Regions from separate parts of the Homo sapiens genome. Here regions 1 and 2 are each linked to region 3. Evidence: promoter capture Hi-C in 16 types of primary human blood cells and fetal thymus (Javierre and others, 2016). All regions are on one chromosome and are shown on one strand. The core of a region is centred on a gene start or on the middle of the fragment in contact, and the rest is flanking DNA. Distances in the headings are between cores, read along the strand shown.

Region 1 (2,700 bases), core at 159-2,658, 200 kb after region 3:
TTAGTCATGGAATATAATTATTTTTATACATTGCTTGATTCAGTCTGCTAATATTTTGTTGAGGACTTTTGTGTCTATATTCATAAGAAATATTGATCTTTTCTCATAATGTTTTTGTCTGATTTTGACATTATGGTGAAGCTGGCCTCATAGAATGAGTTAGTAAATATTCCATATGCCTCTATATTTTAGAAAAGACTGTAGAGAATTGATATAATTTGTTCCTTAAGTATTTGGTAGAATTTACTAGTGAACTGATCAGGGTCTCATGGTTTCTGTTTTGGAAGGTTATTAATTATTAATTCCATTCCTTTAATAGATCTAGGCCTATCTGGATTGTCTATTTCTTCTTGTGTGAGTTTTATCAGATTTTATTTTTCAAGAAATTCATCTATTTCCCCTAGGTTATCAAATTTGTGGGCACAGAATTATTCATAGTATTCCTTTATTATCCTTCCAATGTCCATGGGCTCTGAAGTGAAATCTCCTCCTTCCAAAAGTAGTAATTTGTGCCCTTCTTTTTCCTAGCCTGGCTAGAAGCTTATCAGTTTTGTTATCTTTTCAAAGACCCAGCTTTTGGTTTCAAAAATTTTCCCTATTGATTTCCTATTTCAATTTCTTTAATTTCTACTCTAATATTTATTGTTTCTTGTGCTTACTTTGGATTAATTTGCCCTTTCTCTAGTTTTCTATGGTAAAAGCTTGCATGATTGATTTTAGATCTTTCTGCTTTCCTAATATATGCATTCAATACTACAGTAGTTTCCCCTTATCCACAGGCGCTATGTTCCAAGACTTCCAGTGGATGCCTGAAACCTTGGATAGTACCCAGCCTAAATGCTGTAAATCAGAATATGTTTCTATTTCTGTCTTCCAGCCACAAAATGTAACGCTTTTTTCATCTTAACTAGGCACTTACAGTGGCCATACTTTTGCAGCATGAGGTGTGACAACAAAACTAGCATGAATTTTTTTATCCTTCTTCACAATATCGTGGATAGAAGATTCATTTTTACCGTAGATGTTAGCAAGTTCAGCATATAATTTTTTTCTTTTCTTATTAAGTCAAGAATGTTCACCTTTTCACTTAAAGGAAGTACTTTATGGCTTCCTTCATATCTGAATTGCCAGCATTTCTACTTTTGTGCTTTGGAGCCATTAAGTAAAATAAGGGTTACTTGAACACAAGCACGGTCATATCACAATAGTCAATCTAATAACCAAGACTGCTCACGCCTGTATTCCCAACACTCCAGGAGGCTGAGGTAGGCAGATCACTTGAGGCCAGAAATTCGAGACCAGCCTGGCTCACATGGTGAAACCCCGCCTCTGCCAAAAAATACGAAAGTTAGCCAGGCATGGTGGCCTGCCTGTAATCCCAGCTACTCAGGGACGGTGGGGGGCTGGGGGGAGGGGGGCAGAGCTGAGGCAGGAGAATTACTTGAACACAGGAGGTAGAGGTTGCAGTAAGCCAAGACAGTGCCACTGCACTCCAGCCTGTGTGACAGAGTGAGACCCTGTCTCAAAAAAAAAAAAGACTGCTACTAAATGACTAATGGCCAGGTAGTGAATGTATATAAGGTGAACAAAGGAGGATTTACATCTCATAGGGGATGAAGTGGGAAGGCAAGAGATTTTATCATGCTACTCAGAACAGTATTCAATTTAAAACTTAAGAATTGTTTATTTTTGGAATTTTTCACTTAATATTTTCAGACTGTAGTTGACCACAGATAACTGAAACCACAAAAAGTAAAACTGCAAATGAGGAAGTACTACTGTGTATATTTCCCTTTACGCATTTTAAAAACTTGTGAGATGTTTGCTGCATCCCACAAGTTTTCATAAGTTGTGTTTTCATTTTCATTTAGTTCAAAGTATTTAAAATTTTATCTTGAGATTTCTTCTTTGACCTATGTGTTACTTAGAAGTATGTTGTTTAATCTCTAAGTATGTGGGGATTTTCCAACTACCTGTTTTTGATTTCTAGTTTAATTTTATTGCAGTCTGAGAGAAGACATTGATTGTATGATTCCTATTCCTTCAAATTTGTTAAGGTATGTGTTTTTTGGCCCAGAATATGTTCTATACTGGTGAATGTTCCATGTAAGCTTGGAAGAATGTGTATTCTGCTGTTGTTAGATGAAGTAGTCAATAGATATCCATTATAACCAGTTGATTGATGGTGTTGTTGAGTTCAACTCTGTTGTTACTGATCTTCTTGCCTACTGGACCTGTCCATTTCTAATAGAGGGGTGTGTTAAAATCTCCAATAATAATACTGGATTTAACTATTTCTCCTTGCACTTGTATCAGTTTTTGCTTACATATTTTGACACTCTGTTTTTATGTGCACGTATTAGACTGCTCTAACACTACTGATAAAGACAGACCTGAGACTGGGCAATTTACAGAAGAAAGAGGTTTAATGGACTTACAGTTCCACACGGCTGAGGAAGCCTCACAATCATGGTAGAAGGCAAGGAGGAGCAAGTCACATCTTACATGGATGGCAGCAGGCAAAAAGAGAAAGCTTGTGCAGGGAAACTCCCCTTATAATATCATCAGATCTTGTGAGACTTATTCACTATCACGAGAACAGCATGGGGAAGACCTGCCCCCATGATTCAATTACCTCCCACTGGGTCCCTCTCACAACATGTGGGAATTCAAGATGAGATTTGGGTGGCGACACAGAGC
Region 2 (2,850 bases), core at 277-2,776, 150 kb after region 3:
TTCCATAGTTTTCCTTAAAAGGTATTCTGTTTCATCTCCCTACATACAAGTAGATGAATGGTTAAACTGTGTGCAAGAAACTAAAGGAAAAATTCCAAAGAAGTAGCACACAACAGTATTTAATGGCAAACACTGTTTCTTCCTCTTTTATCCACTGTTTAAAAATCAGTGCAGGCTGGCATGGTGGCTCATGCCTGTAAACCTAGCACTTTGAGAGGCTGAGGCATGTGGATCACTTGAGGTCAGGAATTCGAGACCAACCTGTCCAACAGGGCCAAACCCCATCTCTACTAAAAATACAAAAATTAGTTGGGCATGTGCCCATAGTCCCATCTACTCAGGAGGCTGAGGCATGAGAATTGCTTGAACCTGGGAGGCAGAGGTTGCAGTGAGCCGAAATCATACCACTACACTCCAGCCTGGGCAACAGGGTGAGACTCTGGCTCAAAAAAAATAAATAAATAATTTTAAAAAGTGAGAATCAGTGCATTCAAGGACTGGACCCTCTCCCCTAGCTTTGGAAAGTCTTTCTGACCAATCCCACCTCTTTGCATAATTCCAGCTATTACCTATGTGCCATCAGTGACCCCCCCAAACCCTGATTCCAATTTTATAAGCCCTAAAGACATGCCCCAAATGAAACTTGGCATCCTCACTCATAAACTGCCACACCCCTATTTTTCACACTTTGGCTGATAGCATTGCTATACAATCAGTCACTGAAGCTAAAAACTTTAGTAGTTCTTGACTATTTCCTGTCCTTATAATATCCAATCAGTCACCAAACCTAACCCATTCCACTTCCTAAATGTCCCATTTATTCACTTAAAAATATAACAGATATTTACGGAGCACGCACTGCATGTCCAAAATGTTGCCCTGGTTGTTCTATCTGCCCTTTGCTGTATCCCCACCGTCCCTGCCCAAATCAAGGCCTTTCCCACCACTTCCTCCAATTGGTAAAATACCATCCTAGCTTGTGTGCAAGTTTCCAGTTTCCTGACCCACCCCATGCATATTTTCCACTATCAAAAGGATCATGTTCCTAAAATACAAGTCTAATATTATAACTATTGGCTTTAAAGCATCCTGTCTCCCTTGGAGCCCATAAGATTACATCTTAGAACAACACTCAAAGTCCATTACATTTTGGTTCCACCTTTCTTTCCTGGCTGTCTGCCTCCACCCGCCTATGTTCAAGCTTCTTTAAAAGGTCACTAATCTTCAAACACACCACCCACCCACCTGCTTATTATTTTTTTTAATGTGGTCATCTCTGGTAGCAATTTCTTCTCATCTTCTTTTTGCCTCAGAATTTAAGGCAACTTCAAATATTAGCTTCACTGTAAAGGCTTCTCGGATGCTCCCAGGAAGACTGGGTCACTCTTTTCATTATGCTTTCAGAATGAATTGGGTATCACTATATCATTTATTACTGAGGGACTGAATATACAAACTGACATGAACTAATCCATGTATAAAAATAGAACTTTGACCATCAACCTCCAGAATCTTGTCCAGAAAGCCAATCTGTTAACTTCAATAAATAGTCCAGGAAGCCAGCCTGCTATAAGTCAGGCTGCTATCTGTAGAAACAATATAGGAAGCTAAGCAAAAACTTCTGTAACAATCGGCTCAAAATGGCCAGGACTTGATTCATAACTGACAGCTTTCCCAATATCTGTCCCCACTCCAAACTTAGGACAAACCAGAGAAAGCCAAATATGCACCCCTAAGCAATCACAGAGGATGTTCTGCTTCTGGTTAGCCTACCTCCAACTTCCCCAAGACAACAGCCTCCAGTCAGGGTATGATTGAAGCCTTCCCTTTATTTCTCACTATGAAGCTTCCCACTCCTCTGCTTGCCTTTGATTCTCTCCCAAAACACAAGTGACAGTGGCAGACTCCCCTTGCTATAGCAAACACTGAATAAATAATCCTTGCTTTTCTTCTTTAGTTGGTTTTGGTTTCTTTCCACTGTCTTTAACCAGGACCTGCCACATAAAATTGGTTAATGAATGATGTGTTTTTGTTATTGTTATAGTGGCTTTTGTTGGATGGCTACTTACTGCTACCACAGGATGCTTTTCCCAACAATCCAACTTTGTCATTATAAATTTGTTACTAATATTCCCTTATTATCTGGGTAAAATCTATAGGATAGTTAATGATGTCCCCTCTTTAATTCTTGACTGATAATTTTTTGTCTTCCCTTTTTTTCCTGTATCAGTTTTGCTAGATATTTACCAATATTACTGATGTTGTCAAAAACCCAGCTTGGGGTTTCATAAATTTTCTCAGTTTGTCTTGGGTTTTCTATTTTTGTTATCATTTTTATTCTCTTCCTTCTGCTTACTTTGGTTTAACTTTTCTTCTCTTTTCCAGCCTCTTGTGGTGGGAATTTAGACTCTAATAAATTTAGATCATTGATTGTTGATACTACTTCTTTTCTAATATAAGTATTTAGTTAGATGGTTTTGAGACTTGCTTTTAAGTTGTGCTTGGGCAGGGCTAGAGAAACCTTTCCTCTAGGAATGGGTTAGCCCACTACTGCAGAGTAGTCCTTCTGGATGGAGTCTTTACTGCATTCTCCAAGTAAAGAGGCTCAATGAGGGCTCTCCATGCTATCTGGTGGTAATGCAAATGATTCCGCAGTCTGTGTGTATTGTGGAAATACGCTCCTCTCATAACTCCACAGTTGTTCTTTGCCCAGCCTTGTAGCATTTCACGCTGTGCATTGTCTTGATATTTTTCAGACTCATGGGACCCACTGTGTATATTTCTCAAGCCCGTTTTCTGTGTAGCTCCCTACTCTGTAGATCTCTGCCTCACCATTTACAGACACCAGAC
Region 3 (2,807 bases), core at 229-2,728:
ATCGGTTAGAAATTTTGGAACAGGGTAAGGATTTCAAATAATCCTGTCTTATTTGCTATTGCATAACTTTGAGAAGGGTAATAGGGAAATCCATGGTAACCATATATTACTTAAATTGCTGTTACAAAAACCGACTCTTTGGATAGGAATGATTTTTAGCAGGGATCCTCCTTAAGACATAATAATGTGCCACTGAAAACAACATTAGCCCTGTATTGAATTGCCAATCTTCCTGCAGCATTTAGTGTGTTTACTGTATATGAATGCCTATGCCTGTCTCTGGTGCAAAGAGGTTTACTCTTATTGCAATAGTCACTCTGGCTAGAGCACATGAAGAACAGAATTTTTAAATGATTAATTAGTCCCCAGGCTCAATCACTTAAGCCCCTAATTGAATATCTGACTCCATTTTCAACTATTGTAGGAAAAGATAATTAGCAAATTTGCAGTGGTAATAAAGAAGTTTTACTTTCCTTTATAAATAATAATATCTAAATTTCTGGTCATGTAACTTAGTACTTGCATCTCTCCTGGACTTCTGAATCCAAAACATTTTTTGAAAAATGCAACAAGGTGATGAAGGATTTTTCTTCAGAGCTCATTTTTTGGACATCTTCTATTGATTTTTTTCTACCTTCAGTCTCACTATCAGCTTCTTCCCTTCTTGCCACTAATTTCTTCATCTTGAAGTCTGCTATCAACCAACATGAAAAACTCAAGAAAAAAACTAATTTCCTTCTTCCCTGTTCCACAAACCTTACCAATCCCTTTACCAGCATTTTCCTATCCTGTCCCACCAAAAATGAAAATTACCCAACTCCAAGATTTATGTTGGAGAAAAAAAATATTGCATTCTTTATTTTTTTTTTTAAAGACCACCTCAGTGTGGGCTCAAAGTGCAGTGAAAATGCCGGAGTCTCATTACACTGGTTGGAATGAAACCCTGCTGCCCTTAAACGGTTAATTCAGGGTAAGTGATAATGTTTAGTCAGTTCGCCTAGAAAAAGGAAGGAAATTCAAAAGCTGGTTGCTGTAGTAACAATCACAGACAAAAAACATATATATGTACAGGTTCATTTTAAATAAAAATCCTGCCATCTCTCTGTGACTCTATTCTCTCAAGAAAACTGAGCTTGCCGCTTAAATTTGTTGTACATACCTCAACCATTAAACAAGACATTTAACCATAGTGGCAGTTCTGTGACCTTTGAATGCCGTGAAATCTCTGAGCGGTGCTGCTTGTTCATGAAGACTTGTGCTGCAGAATCCAGCAACTTCATCCAGGATTAGGAATATAATTAAGTAACAAAAAAAAAAAAAGAAAAAAAAGGAAAAGAAATAAAGAAACACAAAAGCACACAAGGAGATCGAGAAAGAAGGAAGGTAGAAAGAGAGACTCTCCCTGGGTGAGTAACACCACTTTTCTCCCAGACAAGTGCTGGGACAGAGCCGAGCCTGCTGCAGTGCCCAGACCAACTGACTGGCTGGGTGAGCAGCCGCCGGCCTGCTAGGCTGGGAGGTGCTGTCAGTTGCCACAGGCAAGGAAAAGCAGAGACCAATCGGCTTCAACTCTGGCAGCTTACTGGAGTGGAGCCTTTTCTGTTTATGTTTCCTCATTTCAAGAGTGACGTCAAAGGGTTTAGTTTTTCCTCTGCATGTGCTATTAATTTTAAAGTACTGTACTATGGGAAGAATGTGTGTGTGCCTGTGGTCAGCCTGGGCACCCCACTCTCAGGAGAGCCCAAGAAACATTTTCTATATTCGGGAATACATTTAAAGAATTTAAAATACCTTGTGGTGAGGTGTATAAAAACAAAAGCAAAACAAAACAAAAATTAAATATAAAACCCTGAGCTAAATCATAGCAGCAAGATGTAGATTTTTTCCATCTGTGAGTGTATGTGCTCCATGCTCACTTGGCAGCTGTTGCTTATTTTTTTTTACCTAATTCATTTTTACTCTTACCTAAAAATGAGTTGTTAATTAAACTTGATAGCCATAGAGGCAGAATCGTACAAATGCACTGGTGAACAAAATGATGTGCAATGAAACATAGAACTCCTGTGTCAGTTTGTGCCATGGGTCCCTGCGTTTCCTCCAGCTTCCGTGGTGAAGCCTCAGGCTTGTTCCTGCCAGGGAGATGCCTCCTGATGCCAGCAGGAGTCATTCAAGAAGCAAGGCTATGGTGATGCCATGCAGGTGTGCCTGGGGCCTCAGCTTGTTCTTTCCCAAAGAGTATGAAGGTCCAGTTATTTAGGGATACTTCCTTTACCAGGGACCCCAGCTTATCCCTGGGTTACACTTCCCACTCTGGAAAAATCCCCATAGTTGCCATCTGTTGTTTCTGCCTCCCCCACATCCTCCTCCTTTTCCCCATCCCCATCCTAAATTCTGCTAACAGACCTTTTTTGGGTGGGCGGTGGGCGGAACTTTCCTTCCTCTATCTTCTATGGATTGCATGGACTTTGCCCCCAGCCCCATTCCCACGACAGAGCCACAAGGGGGCATGGGACCCACAGGGGCCAATCAGATTTCTCCATTGCTCCGAGGCAGACTATGTTTTAGGGGTGGGCGCAACACTAAAGAATGTCCACATTCCTTTTTCAAATACTAATATTGTTTCTTTGAGAAAGAAAGTATTTATGTATCCCTAAGAGCCTAGGCGCTAGGATTAAGCATCCCTGTAGTTGTTGGGGTTTATCTTTGGTGTTGAAGCTACAATAGTGAACAAAACAGATGGTTCTTTGCCCCCATGGAGTCTACATTTTGGAGAAGCAGGGAAATTGTCAAAGAAAAATAAGTAAACG

What was found. The method cuts DNA at HindIII sites, captures the fragments that hold promoters and counts their contacts. A CHiCAGO score of 5 or more calls a contact.
Region 1: a contact is called between a fragment that was not itself captured here and the fragment with the promoter of PDE7B in region 3, in 1 of 17 cell types (total B cells). The highest score is 5.7, in total B cells.
Region 2: a fragment that was not itself captured here is called in contact with the fragment with the promoter of PDE7B in region 3 in 1 of 17 cell types (total B cells); the score reaches 5.2 in total B cells.

Annotation. Positions count from the first base shown.
Region 1 is chr6:135,651,210-135,653,909 of GRCh38, reverse strand. The region is part of intron 3 of AHI1-DT (AHI1 divergent transcript); the gene reads right to left. Among named protein-coding and RNA genes, the nearest start is that of LINC02524, 18 kb to the right of the region's middle. The HindIII fragment of the contact is 1,410 bases long and covers 704-2,113 here.
Region 2 is chr6:135,698,109-135,700,958 of GRCh38, reverse strand. All of the region lies in intron 5 of AHI1-DT (AHI1 divergent transcript), which reads right to left. Among named protein-coding and RNA genes, the nearest start is that of LINC02524, 65 kb to the right of the region's middle. The HindIII fragment of the contact is 645 bases long and covers 1,204-1,848 here.
Region 3 is chr6:135,850,372-135,853,178 of GRCh38, reverse strand. PDE7B (phosphodiesterase 7B) reads right to left here and starts at 1,478. Exons shown (of 13, transcript NM_018945.4): 1 at 1,160-1,478. The coding sequence starts at 1,180. RefSeq lists a silencer at 1,454-1,691. The HindIII fragment of the contact is 11,590 bases long and covers 1-2,807 here.